5 separate regions of the Homo sapiens genome follow, and regions 1, 2, 4 and 5 are each linked to region 3. Evidence: promoter capture Hi-C in 16 types of primary human blood cells and fetal thymus (Javierre and others, 2016). All regions are on one chromosome and are shown on one strand. Each heading gives the region's core, a stretch centred on a gene start or on the middle of the fragment in contact. The rest is flanking DNA. Distances are from core to core; before and after follow the strand shown.

Region 1 (3,838 bases), core at 1,303-3,802, 580 kb before region 3:
AGGGGACACCTGGAGTGCTGCTATGTTGGGGAACTGAAATATTGAATAGGGTGGTCAGAGTGAGAAGGTGACATTTGAGCAAATACTTGAAGGTGGTACAGGAAAGAGTATAGCAGGAAGAGGGAACACCTGTGCAAAGGTTATGGAGAGAGAAGCTTGCCTGTTGCGTTAAGATAAACAATAAGAGGACAGGGTGGCTACAGCAAAATGAGCAAAGGGAAAAGTCGTAGGAAGGTAGTAAAATAATTAGAAATGATTGTAATTAAGTAAATGGCAACTATTCCTAGAGAAAGAATCTATGTCCAAATGGACATCAGCACATCACACAAAAACACTTCTGAGTTGGAAGTCACAGCCAAGGCAGGATTAGAATTCAGTTCTCATTTTACCTCTATGAATTCTGAATTTTTCTCTGGAAATGAGAAGTTGGAGTAGAGATCTCTCTACATTTCCATCTGGTTTTAAGCCTCAAGCCTCAAGGGAATAGGAACAGATGCTCTGATGACAACAGGTTGCAGTGTTTTGTCTCTGGAGGACACTAGAAGCTTATCGAGGCAGACACTTAGACCAATTTTCCTTTTTTGACTAAACAAGTATTTTATTTATTTATTTTATTATACTTTAAGTTCTGGGTTACACATACAGAATGTGCAGTTTTGTTACATAGGTATACATGTGCCCTGGTGGTTTGTTGCACCCATCAACCTGTCACTTACATTAGGTATTTCTCCTAATGTTATCCCTCCCGTAGCCCCACACTCCCCGACAGGCCCCAGTGTGTGATGTTCCCCTTCCTGTGTCCATGTGTTCTTCGTTCAACTCCCACTTATGAGTGAGAACATGCAGTGTTTGGTTTTCTGATCTTGTGACAGTTTGCTGAGAATGATGGTTTCCAGCTTCATCCATGTTCCTGCAAAGGACATGTTTTCATACAGTTTGCCATGTGCCTGCAAAAACTACCTATTATCCTCAATGAACATGCATTCAGAGTCCACTAGAGGGCAGCCCTGCACTTAGAAACTGAAAAATGTTTACTTGGCAAAGGGAATGTATCCTCTCTTGGGCCACGATGACCAGAACAATCAGAATGAATAACAAGACACTGTGAAAAGCTTTCAATAGGATTTCAGTTTTTCAACACTTCTTTAGTCATGGGCTGTGGCCTAATGTAACAACAATTAGTATCAGCCCTTGAATGTCTGATTTTTAAACTTTTCCAGATACCTAATAGACATTATTTCACTCAAGCCTCAAAATAATTCTATGAGCAGTGAGCTATCTTTATTGTTCAGATAAGAAAACACAGACTCAAAGAGCAGAACAGGGGTGGGGTCAAGATGGCTGACTAGAAGCAGTGGCAATCAGAGGCTCCCCTTGAAAAGAACCATAACAGCATGCGAATCCTGCACCAGCAACTGAGGTATCCAGATTCCAACATCGGAAATGACTAGGTGGCTGCTGTGATCCACAGAGAAGAAGGAAGAGTAGTGTGGTGTGGTGGCTACACAGGGCAGAGGAGTCCACTCCCCCCAGCCAAGGGAGTCAGTGAATGAGCATACTACCCAGCCTGGAAAATGTCCTTTTTCCATGGAACTGTGCAACCCATGGTTTGGAAGATCCAACTCATGAGTCCATTCCACTGGGGTCTAGGGTCCCAACAATGAAGCCATACAGATTCTCAACAGGCACTAAGCTAGAATCTGCTTAAGGCTGCTGAGCTCCTGGGGGAGGGTGATCAGCACCACAGCTGCAGTTGCCTGCTGTCTAAGCCGTTTGGACTCCTTGGGGGACGGGTGACAGCCAACACTGGGACTGATAGCTGCCTAACAAACTAAGCTCTAAGGGCAGGTGAAGGGCAGCAGCCATCTCTATAGCTCCAGGCCAGGCTTTTCCCCTGCTGGAGCTGGGGAGGCTGGACAGCTTGGTCCCAAGAGGTATCCCCCACAGTCCAACACAATGGCTGTGGCAGATTGCGGACAGAGTGCCTCTTCAGGCCTGACCTTGACCCATCAAGGCAGGGCCTCCCTACAGGAACTCCAACAACTTCAGCCAGGGACTCAAGGACAGAACTCTGATCTCCCTGGGCCTGAGCCCTAGCGGGAGGGGTGGCTGCAGTCTCTGCAGACCAGTAGACTTATTCTTTCCTCCTGCTAGTTCTGAAGAATTCAGGCAGCCCAGATGTGTGGGTTTCCCCCCAGTGAAGCACGCCCAATCCACCAAGGGACAAAGTGCTTTGTTAAATGCGTTCTGCTCCCCTTGCCACCTAACTAGGTGAGATCTTCCAACAGGGGTTGTCAGACATGCTATACAAGAGCGTTCCTACTGGCATCAGTTAGGTCAGAGATCCCAGAGGAAGGAGCAGGCACCCATCTTTGCTGTTTTCCAGGCTCCTTGTGTGACATCTCCAGGCATGGGAATGAACCAGATGAATAGGGCCTGAAGCGAACCCCCAGCAAACCACAGCAGCCCTACAGAAGAGGGACCTGATAACTGCAAGAAAAACAAACAGAAAGCAACAACAATGCAACAACAACAATAGCATCAACAATAAAAAGTCCCCACAAAATCCCCACCCAAAGGTCAGCAGCCACAAAGATCAATATTAGACAAACTCATGAAGATGAGAAAGAATCAACGAAAAAAACGCTGAAAATCTAAAAGGCCAGAGTGCCTCTTCTCCTCCAAATGATCACAATGCCTCTCCAGCAAGGATGCAGAACTGGATGGAAGATGAGATGGACAAATTGACAGAAATAGGCTTCAGAAGGGGGGTAATAACAAACTCCGCTGAGCTAACCGAGCATGTTCTAACCCAATGCAAAGAAGCCAAAACCCTTGATAGAGGGCTACAGGAGCTGCTAAATAGAATAACCAGTTTAGACAGGAACATAAATGACCTGATAGAGCTGAAAAACACAGCACAAGAACTTCATGACGCATACACAAGTATCAATAGCCAAATCAACCAAGCAGAAGAAAGGATATCAGCATTTGAAGACCATCTTGCTGAAATAAGGCATGCAGACAAGATTAGAGAAAAAAGAAATGAAAAGGAATGAGCAAAACCTCCGAGAAATATGGGACTATGCAAAAAGACCAAACCTACAATTGATTGGAGTACCTGAAAGAGACAGAGAGAATGGAACCGAGCTGGAAAACACACTTGAGAATATTATCCAGGAGAACTTCCCCAACCTAGCAAGACAGGGCAACATTCAAATTCAGGAAATACAGAGAACACCACTAAGATATTCCATGAGAAGACCAACCCCAAATAATCATCAGATTCTCCAAGGTCAAAATGAAGGAAAAAGTGGTAAGCGTAGCCAGAGAGAAAGACCAGGTCACCTACAAAGGGAAGCCCATCAAACTATCAGCAGACCTCTCAACAGAAACACCACAAGCCAGAAGAGAGTGGGGGCCAATATTCAACAATCTTTTTTTTTTTATCATTATACTTTAAGTTTTAGGGTACATGTGCACAATGTGCAGGTTAGTTACATATGTATACATGTGCCATGCTGGTGTGCTGCACCCATTAACTCGTCATTTAGCATTAGGTATATCTCCTAATGCTATCCTTTCCCCCTTCCCCCACCCCACAACAGTCCCCAGAGTGTGATGTTCCCCTTCCTGTGTCCATGTGTTCTCATTGTTCAATTCCCACCTATGAGTCAGAATATGCGGTGTTTGGTTTTTTGTTCTTGCAATAGTTTACTGAGAATGATGATTTCCAATTTCATCCATGTCCCTAAAAAGGACATGAACTCATCATCTTTTATGGCCACATAGTATTCCATGGTGTATATGTGCCACATTTTCTTAATCCAGTCTATCA
Region 2 (3,619 bases), core at 209-2,708, 780 kb before region 3:
TGTCTCACATTTCTACTCCCCTCCCTGTGTGTTTTCTGGGCTCACCTCCCAAATAAACTATAGGTCTTCAGATCCTCATATTAGGTTCTGCTTCTGGTGGGAGTCAAACCAAGACGCCCACATGATGCAAAGTGGACTCCGAGCATGGCTGTGGAGCACTCACTCTGAGAAGAAAGGAAAAGTCCTCTGGGCCTTCTAATCTGTCACTGAGGCTGCTCTCTGGACCATCTTTCAAGACTTGACTTATACATCACTCCTCAATTGCATATGCTTGGCCTTCCTTCCTTGAGACGCTGGCTATTCTGTTCTCTGAGCTTTGCCAAAAAGCTTTCATTTCTTAACACTCAAACTATATTATAGTTTATTTTCTTGGTTGTCTACCCTACCCCTCAATCCTGATCATGGGCTCCTTGAGGGCAGAGCCACGTCTTCTTCACTGCTATGCCCCAAGCCCCTGGCCAACTTTGCGTCTCATCCTGGGCACATGAATACTACTTGTTAATGAATACAGGCACCAAAGGCTATAGGGGCGACGGGGCTCATTGAGCAGCTCTCAATGAGCCCTGCTGTCTACAGCTTCTCCTGGGGCCCTGGGAGGAATCCAAAGGAGGCGACCCTTGATAATGCCACTCAGGGCTGGCTCTAGGGTTGACCATGTTATAAATGTGGTCCCCTACATGGTGAGGTGGCATTTGACCCATTGCCAGCTCTCCTTCTCCTGCTTTTTTACAACCCTAGGTTGCCTCATGCCTCTTTGGAAGCTAGAAGTTGACCAAATTTTCCCTCAGCAAACTTTTACTTCTTAGCAAAAACACAGATGGCTCCCTGAATACCCAGACATGTGAAAACTTTGGTGGTTGTTGAGCAGCATTATCAAAGCTGCACCTGTGCTCCAATACCACAGTCTCCCGGTCCATCAGGAACACCCCTCGGGGATCCTGCTCCCTCTTCCTCTTTCTCCAAATTCCTGCTCTTCCATTATTGTGCAGACAACTAACTCTCACTGAGTGATCCCAGAGCAGTGACAATTCCCCGATCTTTATTTCCCCAACACTGAACACACGCAGCATATACAGCAGATGCCTAATCAAGGTTTATAAAGTGAAAATGCATTTGGGGGAAACCCATTAACTGCTATAAGCAGCGTCAAGACTGAAAGCGGAGTTACTGTGGTTTACCCAAACCGCAGTGCCCCTAAGACTGACCCCAACTGTGCACGAACAGGCTCCTGAATCAACCCTTCTCCTGAGGCATAAACACAACTGCCAAATATAGCCCAGTGGGCATTCACTTTCTAAGATGACCTCCACCTTCGGAACGCTTCTATTTGATGTTTCTGCCCAACTGAGATTGAGCAATGCCTGTAGGAATAATTTGCTTCCTGCTAAACATTTCAGACATCCCTCAAGACCTCTGAGGCTGGCATGGACAGTTTAGCATGTCAAGGGCTAAAAATTCCTCAGAAAACCAGAAGTTTTCCACCCAAGTCCTTTTTAAAAAATTTTAAATCTTTATCCTGAGAGATGCATAGAGTTTTGAGCAGAATGTGAAATCTTTTTTTGGGTGTGTGATGCTGTGGAACTAAGTTTTATGTTTATATACAATTGAAAAATTACCTATGGGTGCCTAATTTTACAGAAAATTATGTACAAAATCATGTTTTGAAAACAAAATTCCTTTGCAAATTTATTATGAATGCTCATAATCCAGTTGGAAACTATTTTGTGAAATAGAGCATCTTGTAGTTGTTTTTATAATATCCTACACATTTATCACTTTGCAAGTCTGAATTTTTGTTTGTTTTTTGTTTGTTTGTTTTTATGGTAGAGAGACACTTATAATGCAGTAGTTGAAAACCTGCAAATTGGAGTCATGCTGTTTGGATTTGAGGACCAGCTCTGCCTACATTGGCTGTGGGGTCTTGAACAAGTCACTTAACTTCCCTGTCCATCAATGTTCTTATCTGCAAAACAAAATAATGACAGTGTCTGGTAATGCTGTTGGAGGAAAAAATAAAATAGTGCCTACATATGGACTCTGTATTTTTTTTATTATACTTTAAGTGACTCTGTATGTTTTAAAGTGATTTTAGAAAGCTAGATATTGTGTATTGAAGTTCTATTATGTGGTATTCTCATGTACTCTATGGAATCTAACAGTCCATTTTCTGTGTGCATTTGCAATCCATAGAGAAAGAGAGAGAAGTGAGAAAATGAGGAAGAAGAGAGAGAGCGAGAATATGAATGAATGAATATGAATAGACTGGGAGGGCAGAGGGAGGAAAGAAAGGCATATCTAGAAAAGAAAAATGCACTTAAAAAGCAAAAGCAAACACCATATACATAAGTAAAGAAACGATCACATGCTGCAGAATTTCTGCAATGTCATGGCACTGCAGTTTCTACTAATAGGTACTAAAAGGTTAATATAAAAATAATCTCTTTTGGTAAATCTTTAGAATGACAGTTAAAAATATTTAATGTTTTCTGATTCTTTGCACTGTCGTAACAATGGATTTTGTTTCTATAGTTGTTGGTTAAATCTTTTCCCTTTTAGAGTAGAAATAATAGCACAATCTTTAAAAGCTTATTACTAGGATGGCTATGCTGCTGTTAATCTTTTTTGTTGTTTTCATTATTCAGGAAAGGGGTCTAAATCTGATACGACATGGGATGAGAATACTGTTAATGCTTTCTTCATGTGAAGACAAATATGCCTGGCCTCCTGACACAGTGTGTGTATGCAGGAAATAGGAAGAGAGGAGTAGACCTGTGCAGGGGTTGGGGGAAGTTTTAGTCTGACATTCATGTAGACCAGGAGGCCCCCTGAGCACAGGGGCTTCATGGCCCTCGGCCGTCACCCACAGTGATGGGTCCAAGCAACTTACAGTCTTCTGATGTGAGACTTTAGGAAAATGACTCAGTTCATTTGAGCCCCTTCATTTTGAGGGATTACGTGACTCAACAGCTTTATAAAGGACCACATTCCATACATGTTGAAGAGTCTCTAAAGAGGCAAGCTGACTTGCCCCATGTAGAGGCAGGACATTCTAGGGGGAGGAATCAGGAAGAGCAGAGGTGCAAGCAAACATCAATGCCTTCCTCAGGATGTCCCTCAGGCAGGGATAGACAACTGCCCACCAAAGACTCTTTCATGGCCCAGCCGTGTTACTGGTATGCATCTGCCCAGCCAGGATGCCATTTCTCCGGGCCTGCATTGAGGTGGGGCCACGTGACCAGTTCCTGTCCACAGGTTGGGAGTGAAAGTGGCGTGAGCTCTCCGTGCTGAGATAGTTAAGAAGCAGGTACCTGCCTTTTCCATGCTGCCTTCCTCCATCTGCTGTCTGAATATGGATAAGCCCATAAAAGACTCAGAGGCCCTGGAGGATGATAGAGCCACAAGGTGGGAACCTTGTACTTTGGCCTCTGAAGGCTTCCCACAGGCCAGGGGTACTTGTACTGCACTGTTGTGTGATGAAAAAGAAAATGATTGTATTAAGCCGCTTAGATATTCAGTTTACTTGTTATAGTGGCATATGCTACCCTAACTAATTTATCCAGTTTCAGAAAGGACATCCTTAAAACCAGCCCTAAGGACCCAAATTTGCTGGGACCCAAAT
Region 3 (3,748 bases), core at 505-3,004:
CCTGCCATTGATATAGCACACTTCCGACACTCAGAAGTTCATGAGCCAAGACTGGCCTCCACCCTGAGCTTTAATAGTGTGCAGCCTAGATTCAGTTGGCTAAATCCATCTTTCCTTTCTCTTTCCCTGTACTTATTCCATCATTGGTTCTTAATAATCCACTTCCTGGCTTTCTGCCACTCTTTCCCTTTTATAATCTGCACTGATGCAAGATTCATCCTAAAACTCCTTTACAGCATGTCACTCCCAAGTCCTTGGTAGCTTTATCTCTAAAATAAGTAAGTGCCTTAGCCAACTTAATGCCTTCCATCCTCTGGTTCTTCCAAACCATATTGTTCATTCCCACCTCTTACCCCACTTTCCACTCAAAATTCAGTTCAATAGCCTGTGTAAGTACCTATGAAGTTGAAGGCACTATGCGAGCTATTAGAAACTCAGCCAATGAACTTTCTCATGTTCATGACCCAACCCAAGTCCCGTAACTCAGACAACTGACATATTCCTCCCCTGGAGCAGAAATCTTTTCTCTCAATAACAAGAACATTTATTTAAAGTATGTTTTCAACGTAGGGGTCTGGCTTCATTTAAGGAAGATAGAAAGAAATTACCCAGAACTAACCACGAGAATAGCAAGCTCAAAATTTGTACTTACAGCTGGAGTAACAAAAAATTAAAGCAATGACTAACCATCACTTTTCCTTTTATAGATGTACTGTTCCATCTGGAAGTCAAGATTGGTGCCACCTAAGTGGGTTCCTGCTGCAAGGAACTTAAGGACATCCTCCTCCTTCATTTGCAGGACATCAAGGGCTCCGGACATTGTGAAAATTTCCCTTTAAGTTACGACGGGAATCTGAAATAAGAGAGCAACCTATTTCTTTTCATTCCATTGAGTTAAGTAGGGCACACCCTTAAAAGCAACCAAAAACTCCATCTGCTATAGTGTCAGGCATTGAGCTTACAGTGTAGTGAAGGGTAAACAGAAAGTTAACCCATACATGTCGTGTATTACGGAACAGCGCACATCTTACTGAGGAAATAGTGTGGACGGCAGAGTAACCGAGTAATAAAACTACACGAAATTAGCGAATGGAAATTCAACACTTCTCAAGATAGGAATTAAGGAAAAGTTGTGGATGCGCCAAGTTAACAACTAGATACAAAAGAGCAGCCATGTTTGGAATATGCAAACTAAAGGCAAAAAAGGCATGAATTGTTTTCAGACATTTTCAAGCAGATTGTAGGCGGATGCTTTGGAATTACTTCGCTGTGCTGTCACCACTTGTTTGTCTAAAAACCCGAGAACCTTAACTCCTGACCCGCACGGCGCGAAGGGAAAACCCGACCAGCCCAAGTAGCTGGTGTAAATCAGCGCCTGGGCCTAGACTCACCGCCGTGTGGGACTCCGAAGGGATAGCAACACAGGATGTTAGCCCGCTTTCTGCACTCCCGCCCACCCGCGGCCTGGTCCGAACCCCAGCTCGGAGCCTCCGCTGGAGGGCGGCCTCCACCCGCTCCCGGGGCACTCTGGGAACCCGCCAGCCCGAGCCTGGCCACGTGCGGGCCGCAGGCCTAAGGTGGGGCGCGCCGGGCGGGAGACAGATCCAGTCTGACCGGCTTTCATCACTAGTCTTCTCACCCTTCATTTGAGCAGGAAAAGCTCATTTTTCTAGCCCTGGAAGGCGCCAGGGACGCTACACGGAACTCACCCAGAACAACGCCGTATGGACCCCTCTGCAGGTAGCACGGAAAAGACAGGCGGCAGGAAATGACGTCCTTATGTACTCCGTTGTCAGCCAATGGCAAAGAAAGTCGAGCGGAAGAAGGGCGGAGCCGGAGAAGAACGCTGCCGGGACTGGGCTTTTTCTTCAGGAAGGCGGGCTTGCGCCGCAGGAGCGGGCCTCTGGGCTGTAGCCGGTAGCGGCATCCTGGTCGGATCTGGGGCGCTTGTGACTTTGGGGTTTCTAGTGCCACAGCGACGCCCTGTGCATAATTCCTGTCCAGAGCGCGGAACTCAAGTTAGTCAGCCAGGCGGGGCGTTCTTACCCAGCCCTTGTACCTGCGAATATGAGCGGCTTTCTAGCCTAAGCTGCCATTTTGTTACCTGAAAAGTAGGAAGGTTTGTTCGACACAACAAATTGTTAGGTAAACAAAAACTTGAAGATTTATTTTATTTTATTTTCCTGGAGAACAGTTTAACAGGACGTAATTCAGATTTAAATGTTCACTTAAGGGAAGTTTTCTCTGAAAAAGTTAAAAAAGATAAGATTGAACTGATCGTATGCGTTATGTCTATCTCATGTATCTATCCATCTATCACCTGGGGGAAGTTTCCCTGAAAAAGTTAAAAAGGACAAGATTGAACAGATGGTATGGATTATATCTATCTTTTTTTTTTTTTTTTTTTTGGTAGAAGAAAAATTTTGCAATATCCATCAGTAGGAGATAAGTTTGCCGGGCGCGGTGGCTTGTGCCTGTAATCCCAGCACTTTGGGAGGCCGAGGTGGGTGGATTGCCTGAGCTCAGAAGTTCAAGACTAGCCTGGGAAACATGGGGAGACCCCCATCTCCACAAAAAATACAAAAATTAACCAATCATGATGGTGCGTCCCTGTAGTCTCAGCTACTCAGGAGGCTGAGGCAGGAGGATAGCTTGAGCCTAGAGGTCAAGTCTGCAGTGAATGTGATTGCACCGCTGCACTCCAGCCTGGGCAATAGAGCGAAATTCTGTCTCCAAAAAACAAACAAAAAAATAGGAGTTAATTGAAGGGGCGCGGTGGCTGTAATCCCAGCACTTTCGGAGGCTGACGCGGGCGGATCCCTTGAGGCCAGGAGTTCAAGAGACCAGCCTGGCCAACATGGCGAAACCCGGTATCTACTAAAAATTCAAAAATTAGCCAGGCATGCCTGTAATCCCAGCTACTGGGGAGGCTGAGGCGGGAGAATTGCTTGAACCCAGGAGGCAGAGGTTGTAGTGAGTGGAGATTGCGCCACTTGCACTCCAGCCTGGGCGACAGAGTAAGACTCCGTCAAAAAAAAAAAAAGTGCAGGTTCCTCTCTGGGGCCTGCTGAGTCAATCTGATTTCTGAGCCCACCCTAAAATGAACTCGTAGACCCTTATGGCCACTCTTCCAAAGGACAGCACATCCAGGTTCTCCTGCAAGTGGCTCTGCAGCTCCACTGAAGCCAGTATGATTTTCTGAGGAGCTTGGAAACCCTTGGACCCTAGCACAGGTCACCCCCAGGCTGCTCTGCTTCATCACCCACCAAGGCTGAAGCACCTGGGGCTTGAGGGACAAATTCAGAGAAGTCACAGCCCCTTGCGGCAAATGCAAATGCCTCCCGCTTCTACGCTTTGTTATGGGAAGAGGAGGCATTCAGTTTGTTGGCAGAAACTCAGGCCACAAGCCTCCTCAGAGGCCCCTGAGTCCCAAAACAATGCCCTGCCCCCTGCACCCAAATGTACTCCTGCTTAACCCTTCACGTGTGGATTGGGATTGCTGAGTAGTGAGTGCAGCTCTGCAGGGTTCCTCCAGGGGCCTCAGCCTTGGCATTAGGATCACCTGGGCAGCTTTTAAAATCTTACACCTGGGCTGAATATATCAGAATCTCTGAGTGAGACCCAAGCATCAGTAGCTTTTAAAGCTCTTGTAGGGGCTTCCCCTCCACCCTCTGAGTGTTCACTGCTAAAATGAACTGACAATAGACAAATTAACAGGAGAAGAAACATACACTTTTTTTTTTTGAGA
Region 4 (4,031 bases), core at 1,090-3,589, 920 kb after region 3:
AACTGGTCCCTGAATAAAGGGTCATCAAAAACTTTCTCCACAAGTTTCAAACCGTTGCTTAATTCTCATAATAAAGGGTGAATTTAAAGGGTGTTTCTCCACTTAGGCAAGAAAGAGTCATCGACCAAAAAAACTTGTTACTGCAGAAAGCAGTGAGGTGATTTCTGGGGCCTTCCTGTTTTGTTAGGTATTAAAGACTATCATTATTTTATTATTGGGGAACCATGAGTTCCTTTAGTGAGATTAAGTCCAAATCTCTGAAACTGGAGACCTGGTTTGCTAATTCCAGGTTGGGGATAAGGACCCATAATTGTATTTTTTAATAGCTCCGCAAATGACTCCAGTACTCAGCAACGTTTGGGAATGACAGAGTTTGTCATCTGCAATAGTCCTGAATACAACTATTTTCAAGGCTTCTCTGCTCCACTTACAACAATATTGCTCAGGGTTGTCTGCAAAGTACAGGACTGGTGGCAGAGGATGAGGGAATGGGGAGTGTCTTGGACATTTGGAAAATATGCTAACCTGCAGAAACTTACTCAAAATCCCAGAACAGTTCGTTCAGGAGAATGGTCCCCATTCATAATGTCCCCAACTAGACCCTGGACTTCTGAATGGCAGAAATGGAGACCTGTGCTTAGCTCCAGCCCCACAGGACCATGGCAGACTAGGCATTCAGCCATTAACATCTGTTAATGTTACACATACCAAACAGGAACTGACTTGAGTCAGCCCTCTAAGCAGCCGAACGCCATTTCATTTCATGTCTAATCCTCATGAAAGGAAACTCCAATCCCCTGCCACGTAATTAAGAAAGACAAGATTGTTTTATTATTATTTTATTTTCATATACAAAAAGATAAAACTTGAAATAGTTCTAGATTTTTCCTCCTATTGTTGGGGTGTAACTGCTTCTTCACACAGGGGGAAAAAACTACATTCACATCGGTTTATTTGAGGACCCAGTGCAGAGTTCAAGCAGCAAAACCCCAACTTAGCAGATCTAATTTCAAACTTGACACTCATTTCTAAAATTACCACAGTAAAAAGGAACAAAGATCCACTGCAAATGAATGAACTATGATACAATGTTCTTTCCAAAATGTTTTCATTTTGCAACTGTAATTACATGGATGTCTGCTTTAGGCCATTTTAGGTGTATGTGTGTGTGTGTGTGTGTGTGTGTGTGTGTGTGTGTGTGTGTGTGTGTGTGTGTGTGTGTGTGTGTGTGTGTAATATATATATATAAATCAGCACACTTTTCAAATCCAGACAGGGTAACAGCAACAAGCTTAACTCTGTATATATATATATATTTTTTTTAAACATGATACTTTAGTATAACTTTTGTTAATTCAGTAGTACAAGCTATTTCTGTTCTACAAAATTTTTATTTTATAGCTACAAGGGTGAAAAGTGACCTACTACATTTACATCTCACATATCCTGGTATACAAACAGTACTTATTTGAGCCAAAAACTAGAAGTCTTTAGTTTTAGCACTTGAAAGAGCTTCCTTGCTTCTACAGCCTTAAATCATATACTAGTCACATTTCCAGAGTTTGCAATTACTCATCATTTTAAACTGTGAGAAACAGGTGAACCCAAACTTTTAATTACAATTTTTATATACAAGTTAGGTAACACAGCTCAATAAGACTTAGCTATCCATCCTAAGCCCAACACACACATTCTCCACTAAGTTAGACAAGTCTTAGGGTTTTCCTTCTTTCCCTTACAAATAATGTACAAATTTAGAAGTAGCTGGTAAAACTGATAGATATATATAAGATGGCAAATAAAAGGTGACATTTTCTGTTGGTTCCAAAACTGTTCCTGCAAATTTTGTCCTTTGCTGTGTTCTTTAACCGTATGTGTTACATGCAGAAAGCTCTTTTCATAAGAATTGACAACAAACTCGATGTAAGTTAAATTTACAGTACTGTATAAAGTTATTCAGATTCAAGGACAAATGTGGAAAAATATTAACAGGTGAAAAACTTGGCCTTTGACACTACCATTAAGATCATGTCCAGTTCATAAGCAGATTTTTGTACAGTTGAAAAATGGCATTGTTGTGGATTTGTGGTGTGGAACTGAAATCTAGAAATATATTTCTACTCTGCGGTAACCCTCTCCCTCAATTCTGAAGTACCACTCAACTTTCTCTGCATTTTTACAGAATTACAGAAAAAAAGAGGAAAAAAAAGCCGCTGGCATTTTAACAATTCCTTCCCTCACTGGCAGTCTTAACATTTTCAGATGAGGTCTCCTGAAGAATCTCTAATAATCACTTGCTCCCAGTCGGCCTTTCATGATGACTTGGACACTTTTCAAGTTAAAACTCAGATGTTGCCTAATCTTTTCTACTCTCATCTCTGTCATTGTTGGTAAAATTTGGGTGACTGCATTTTTCCCTTACGGAGAAATTATTTGGCTAAACACACACTTAACTCGTGGCAGTGCTCTGAGAAAACCCCACTCGGGCTAAAGCACTTGCAGGGACTGAAGTCAACAGTCCACTGAATGGGGCAGAGAACAAACACTTAAGATGACTGACTTGGGACCCTCACTGGGAACACACTGACCTTGTGTCCCATGGTCTGCGGAACAGCAGGTCTACAGGACTGCAGGAGAGCCCAGGAAGGTAGCCCATGCTCGTATAGCTGAGTTACCACTTTTAATCTTGGTCTGCCATCTATGCCCCAGAGACAAAAATTCAGATGCGGTGACTGCTGGTTAATTAAACTTTTTGAACTGGTAAAAAAGGCTCTTTAAAAAATATATATATTTATTTAAAATACATCAAAATGACAAACAGCCATATCCCACAAGGCCTAATTTCACAGCAACATATGCTACAGACATCTTCCCAAAATGCACTATGGTGGATAGTGGGTTTTTTATCCTGCCATTTAAAGGAATGTTCTACATTTGAGCATTAGCGACTGGAAATGTGTTACAAAGAGCTTATCTTTGGAACTAATTTGCGTGCAAGACCAGCCAATTAAATCGCTTTGCCTATTCAGACACACAAGAATACTGAAAATGGCAGAATTCAAAGAGGAACACAGGAAGCACCATTCAGATGACACTCTAGACCCATCCCACCACAATGCCATGACGAGCTTGCCAGAAGCCCTTTCTTCAGTCCTTGGGAAGAGTTTTGCTTTAAAACAAGTGCCCACGCTCAGCAGGGTTCCTGCATGTGTACGTTAAAAGTCTGCAGTATCAAGAGGACCCAGATGGCGACACTGTTCAACATGAGGTCTGAGGTAACTGGTTCTTAAAATACCTGGATCACAGAAGTGCATCCAGAAATTAGGGCTGGGAAAAAGGAAAAAGGTAGAGGTTGGGGACTAGAAAAGACAAGTAGAAAAAAGCTTACAGCAGTTGCTTTTGGGGCGAAGAGAGTGATAAAAACAAAGGCACAACAGAATTACATTCCAAGACACGTGGCTGGAGAGCAGAGAAAATGTTCTTTTTATGGGGAACAGATGGGGTTGGTTTCTGGAGTGCTACTAGATCTGCTGGAACTAAATTTATTCCAAGTATAAAAAGGGTAAAGTGTAAACCTATACGCTCAACCAGAATGAATAAAAAGCACAGCTGGTTTAAAATGACACATTAGGGATTCTCTTGATAAAACTATCCCGTCCAGTGCACCTCTGTCTAGAAGCAGCAGCCTGAAGCCAGCGGGCAGGGTCTGGGGGACAGGTCTTCAGCTGGGCCTCAGGACTGGCCATTATGCATACCAGAAATTAACTTAATTATTCATTATATATCGCCACCAAAAGTCCCACACAAATAACCATCCACTCTCTGCCTAAAAATAAATAGGCTAAAATGAAGACCACTTTCCGTATTGTGGCAGTGATGCTGAGCTTCCTCAGAAAAGCAGGAAAACTCTGGAGCTATCTGAAAGATGCTCTGCTGTTACTGGGGTTCTGAGCTTCCTCACTGGGCTCCTGGCTGATTCCACAGATTGAAGCAGCGAGCCAACCCAACCATTCTCACTGACCAGAGAGGAC
Region 5 (4,096 bases), core at 170-2,669, 760 kb after region 3:
GAAGTAAAACATAAAAAGAAAAGCTTTGGGCTGTTAGAAGAGAAAATGCATATGCACAAACAACAATACTACCTGTTTTACAAGGATGTGCACATAAAGACCTACTTTAGCTCCTAGAGGGGTGCCTGTGTGGAGAAGGAGATGGCAGTGGAGTGATGATGGGGGAAGAAATAAAACAAAAACACAAGAGAGGAGTAATGATATGGTTAACCCAGCTTTGAACCTGAGGCAAAGTAAAGGCAAACCCTGGGCGAAACTGAGGGGCGAATAAAGGACATACTAGTTTTTAAAAACATTTATCTCTGACAGCTGACAACATGTTCCTGTTATTGCTTTAATTAAATAGGGTTGGCCAGACATGGTGGCTCACGCCTGTAATCCCAGCACTTTGGGAGGCCGAGGTGGGTAAATCACGAGGTCAGGAGTTCGAGACCAGCCTGGCCAACATGGTGAAACCCCGTCTCTACTAAAAATACAAAAAATTAGCTGGGCATGGTGACGAGCACCTGCAATCCCAGAGACTCAGGAGGCTGAGGCAGGAGGATTGCTTGAACTGGGGAGGCGGAGGTTGCAGTGAGCCGAGATCACGCCACTGCACTTCAGCCCTGGAGGCAATGCAAGACTCCGTCTCAAACAAAACAAAACAAAACAAAACAAAAAATTTAAATAGGGTCTGGCAAAGAGAAGGGAGTAGCCAAGATCTTGGCAAGGGCTCTTTGTAGGAAGTGCCTGTCTCCAGACACCTGTTGCCTGTCTCTGCACTCTGAGGCCTCTCTAGGACCACAAGGTGTGCTTTTATGGATGAACTTCTACAGGTTCAGAGCTCTGGTTCCCCATCCCCTGGGCTTCTCTCCCCCTGTTTAAATTCAGGGTGCATGTAGACTTACCAGGCTCAGCCCACCTCTCCTGCTGGCAACATCCAGTTGCCCAATACTAAACAGGAGAGTGAAAACCCCACTTCTGCTACATATGGACGGAAGGGAGGCAGGTATCCACCCCTACTCCCAGCAGCTTCTATCCTAGCCTTGTCTCCTGCTTGACCCAATGTCAGTTTGCAAGTAGAAGCTTCATTCTGAGGCCGAGAAGCCCGTGATGGAAGTTCTTAGGGGAGGTAGGACCTTCCTGCTACTGTACTCTCCTGCCTGGTAGGTGTGACTCTGGGAAGGCGGCTGCACGTGGGTTGAAACGTTGACACTGCCTGCACTTCCCCTTCTGGCCGATAGTGGGAGCTGCTAGCCAACCTGAGGCTCGTCAGGCGCTAAAGGCTGGCAGCCGACCTGTGTGGTCCATCCGTCTGTACCCCAGACACCCCACTCAACTCGGGGCCGGAGAGGCCCATGTCCTGAACTTTCCTGTGGACTGACTTTCCTACTGATCCCCTCCTGCAAGCAGAGCAGCCCCTCCGTATGTACCTAAGGCGTCCAACGAAGCCCCACACCCAGGTCGCAAACGGACGCTGTCCCCCACCCCCCTCTTTGCCCTCCCACCTCTTCAAGATCCCCATCATGGAGGAGCAGGTCCCAGCCTCTGGGCTCCCAAACCCAGCACCTCTGTGCCCTCTGAGACCCTGGCACCCATTTGGCTCTCTAAGAGCGGTTCTTGCTTTTGGGAGCCCTGAAAATGTGGCAGAAAAGTGTACCATCCCTTCCAATGACTGTACTTTTTTCGTGGGCAAAAGCTGATGGCCTGTTTTTTGTTGTTGTTTTGTTTTGTTTTTGTTTTTGTTTTTAGAAGCGCAAGATTTATTGTGAAGAGGGAAAGAACAAAGCTTCCACAGCGTGGAAGGGGACCCAAGCGGGTTGCCCTGATGGCCTGTTTTGTTTAAACAAGAAGTGTGTCCCCATAGGTCCTGGGCATGGGCATGGGAGCAACTGTTTGTCAGCGTATGTCTCCGTGTGTGTGTGCCTGTGACCATGTCTCTGAGTGAGAAACAGTGGGTGTGTAAGTATGTGACTCCAGGCTCTGCATGTGTCAAGGTGAAGGTTGTATGTGGCTCAAGAGGGTGGAAGTATATATATAAAGAGGTATATACATGTATATATATGTATGTGTGTGTGTGTGTTTGCGCGCGCGCGTGTGTGGGTGTCTCTGTGTTGGTTGCCTGCTTGCTTCTGGGTCTGGGTGTGTGTTTGGTTCTGTCAGCATGTGCGTCCGTGTGTTCAGGTAGATGTGTACCATTGTGCAGATTTCTGTGGCATCACTAAGTGTGTCTCCAGGAAAGTGTGGTTCGAGTGAGTGTGTGTGTCTCTGTGTCAGTGTGTCAGTGGATGTGTGTCTAAGTCATGTGGGTGTCTAAGTTTGTCAGAGTGTCTTCCTCAGTGTCAGTGTGTGTCAATGATGTGTCTGTCTGTGTCTGTGTGGGTGTGTGGGGGTGTGTATCTGTCTCAGGGTGCATGTGTGTGTCTGTGTCAGTGCAGGTATGCCTATGGCAGCGTGTGTCTGTCTCGGCATGAGTGTCAGTGTATGCCCGTGTCCACGTGGGTGGGTGGGTGTCTGGTAGCCTTCCCAAGTCAGCAAGGTTGCGTGTGTGTGTGTGTATACTCTGGCGGGTGCTGGTGTGTATGCCAGTGTTTGTTAATGTGAGCCTGTCCGCGTCCGCGTGGGTGGCCATCTGTGGTGAAGCGTCGCCGGGTCGCCGTGTGTGTACCCCCGCCTATGTCTGTCTGTCCGCGGCCGCGTGTGCGGCTGTCTGTGGCTGTGAGCCCCCGGGTCAGTGTGGGAGTGTGCGCCCCGGCGGGCGCTGGTGTGTCCCCCCTCCGAGCGGGCGGAGCACCACGTGCGGAGCCCTGGGCGCGTCGCTCTGGGGCGGAGCCAGCCCGGGGCCCCAAGCCCCAGGCCGAACCCAGGCGGGGCCCGCCCCGACCCCGCCCCCGACCCCGCCCCCAGCCCGAGCCCGCGCCGCCTGCCCAGCCCGGGAGCCCGAACAGAGCCGCGGAGCCGAGACGGCGGCGGCGCCCGTAGGATGCAGGGATCGCTCCCCCGGGGCCGCTGAGCCTGCGCCCAGTGCCCCGAGCCCCGCGCCGAGCCGAGTCCGCGCCAAGCAGCAGCCGCCCACCCCGGGGCCCGGCCGGGGGACCAGCAGGTGAGCGAGTGCCCCCGCGCCCGGCAGCCCTGGCCCGGCCGGAGCCCCCTCCGCCTGCCGCCGCCCAACTTTCCTCCCCGAGGGCCGAAGCCTCCAGTCCCTGCGTGCTCCTCCCTGCCCCGGGTCCGCCCAGCCGCTCCCTCCCCGATCAGTGCCCCAGAGAGCCGGAGGGGGAGAAGGGGCGCAGATCCGCCCGGCTGGAGGGTATCCCCGGGGGAGACGTCTCTAAACACCGTGCGCCCCCCTTCCCTTCCCTTTCCTTCCGGGTTTCCCGGTGCGCTGTCGAGGGCCGGGGGAGGGGGAGCTGCGGCCCCAGCTTCCCGGCCATCCCTGGCGCAGGCTCGGGGAGGGTCTGGGATTGGGACCCGGATACCGGAGGCCGGAGACCCCAAGGTCAGAGCGGCGACTAGGCGCGCCATGAATGTGGTTCCAGAGAGCGGGGTTTGCGGGGGCTGACCGAGCAGGGCTGGATATGGGGGAGGAAGCCACGCACCCCCTTTCTCTGGGCCCAGGGGGAACCGTCCGCTGGGGCTGTCCTCTCTGTGGGACGAGATCTCTGCGCGTTTAGACCATGTAGAGATCTCGGTGCCCTTTGACGCCCTAAAGGGGCCGCATCTCCTCTGTCTGATCTCTGTGCTTCTCGAAGGGGTGGAGATCTCTTTGCGGTGAGATTGGAGAGAGTTCTCTGCCCTCCTCTCTCTGAGCCGGAACAGATCCACGCACCCTGATGGGAGGTGGCTCTCGACCTCTGTGTTATTTGATCGTCTTTGGTGGCGCTCTGGAAGAAAGTGGAGGTGCCAAGCTTTGTCCGAGAGGCCAAGAGCTGGTGGGGGCCAGAGGTGTGGGGACTGTTAGTGGTGGTGATGAGGATGGGGGGAAATGATGTTGGGGACAAGTCCCTGGCTGTAGGCCTGCCTTGCAAACACCTGTTGGAGAGCAGAGCACAGCCAGATCAGGATGCCATGGCTAAGATAGTGCAGGACTCACTCTTGTGCTCCTCAGTGCCTTCAGCCC

The links. The method cuts DNA at HindIII sites, captures the fragments that hold promoters and counts their contacts. A CHiCAGO score of 5 or more calls a contact.
Region 1: a fragment that was not itself captured here is called in contact with the fragment with the promoter of RPSA in region 3 in 1 of 17 cell types (megakaryocytes); the score reaches 5.1 in megakaryocytes.
Region 2: a fragment that was not itself captured here is called in contact with the fragment with the promoter of RPSA in region 3 in 2 of 17 cell types (megakaryocytes and non-activated CD4 T cells); the score reaches 6.4 in megakaryocytes.
Region 4: a contact is called between a fragment that was not itself captured here and the fragment with the promoter of RPSA in region 3, in 1 of 17 cell types (total B cells). The highest score is 7.0, in total B cells.
Region 5: a fragment that was not itself captured here is called in contact with the fragment with the promoter of RPSA in region 3 in 1 of 17 cell types (activated CD4 T cells); the score reaches 5.8 in activated CD4 T cells.

What each region holds. Positions count from the first base shown.
Region 1 is chr3:39,987,924-39,991,761 of GRCh38, reverse strand. The region is part of intron 2 of MYRIP (myosin VIIA and Rab interacting protein); the gene reads right to left. Among named protein-coding and RNA genes, the nearest start is that of MYRIP, 180 kb to the right of the region's middle. The HindIII fragment of the contact is 2,876 bases long and covers 1,115-3,838 here.
Region 2 is chr3:40,182,794-40,186,412 of GRCh38, reverse strand. The region is part of intron 9 of MYRIP (myosin VIIA and Rab interacting protein); the gene reads right to left. The region is part of intron 2 of EIF1B-AS1 (EIF1B antisense RNA 1); the gene reads left to right. Among named protein-coding and RNA genes, the nearest start is that of EIF1B-AS1, 130 kb to the left of the region's middle. RefSeq lists enhancers at 825-874, 1,215-1,324. The HindIII fragment of the contact is 2,258 bases long and covers 330-2,587 here.
Region 3 is chr3:39,404,726-39,408,473 of GRCh38, reverse strand. RPSA (ribosomal protein SA) reads right to left here and starts at 1,754. Exons shown (of 7, transcript NM_002295.6): 1 at 1,710-1,754; 2 at 688-853. The coding sequence starts at 820. It overlaps SNORA6 (small nucleolar RNA, H/ACA box 6), which reads right to left and starts at 83; the gene lies at 1-83. RefSeq lists a silencer at 1,371-1,550 and enhancers at 1,721-1,860, 1,242-2,033, 3,619-3,748. The HindIII fragment of the contact is 4,276 bases long and covers 1-3,748 here.
Region 4 is chr3:38,489,935-38,493,965 of GRCh38, reverse strand. It overlaps ACVR2B (activin A receptor type 2B), which reads right to left. Exons shown (of 11, transcript NM_001106.4): 11 at 824-4,031. Among named protein-coding and RNA genes, the nearest start is that of EXOG, 4.4 kb to the left of the region's middle. The HindIII fragment of the contact is 2,092 bases long and covers 1,294-3,385 here.
Region 5 is chr3:38,648,517-38,652,612 of GRCh38, reverse strand. SCN5A (sodium voltage-gated channel alpha subunit 5) reads left to right here and starts at 2,926. Exons shown (of 28, transcript NM_000335.5): 1 at 2,926-3,082. RefSeq lists a silencer at 2,808-2,967. The HindIII fragment of the contact is 703 bases long and covers 1,068-1,770 here.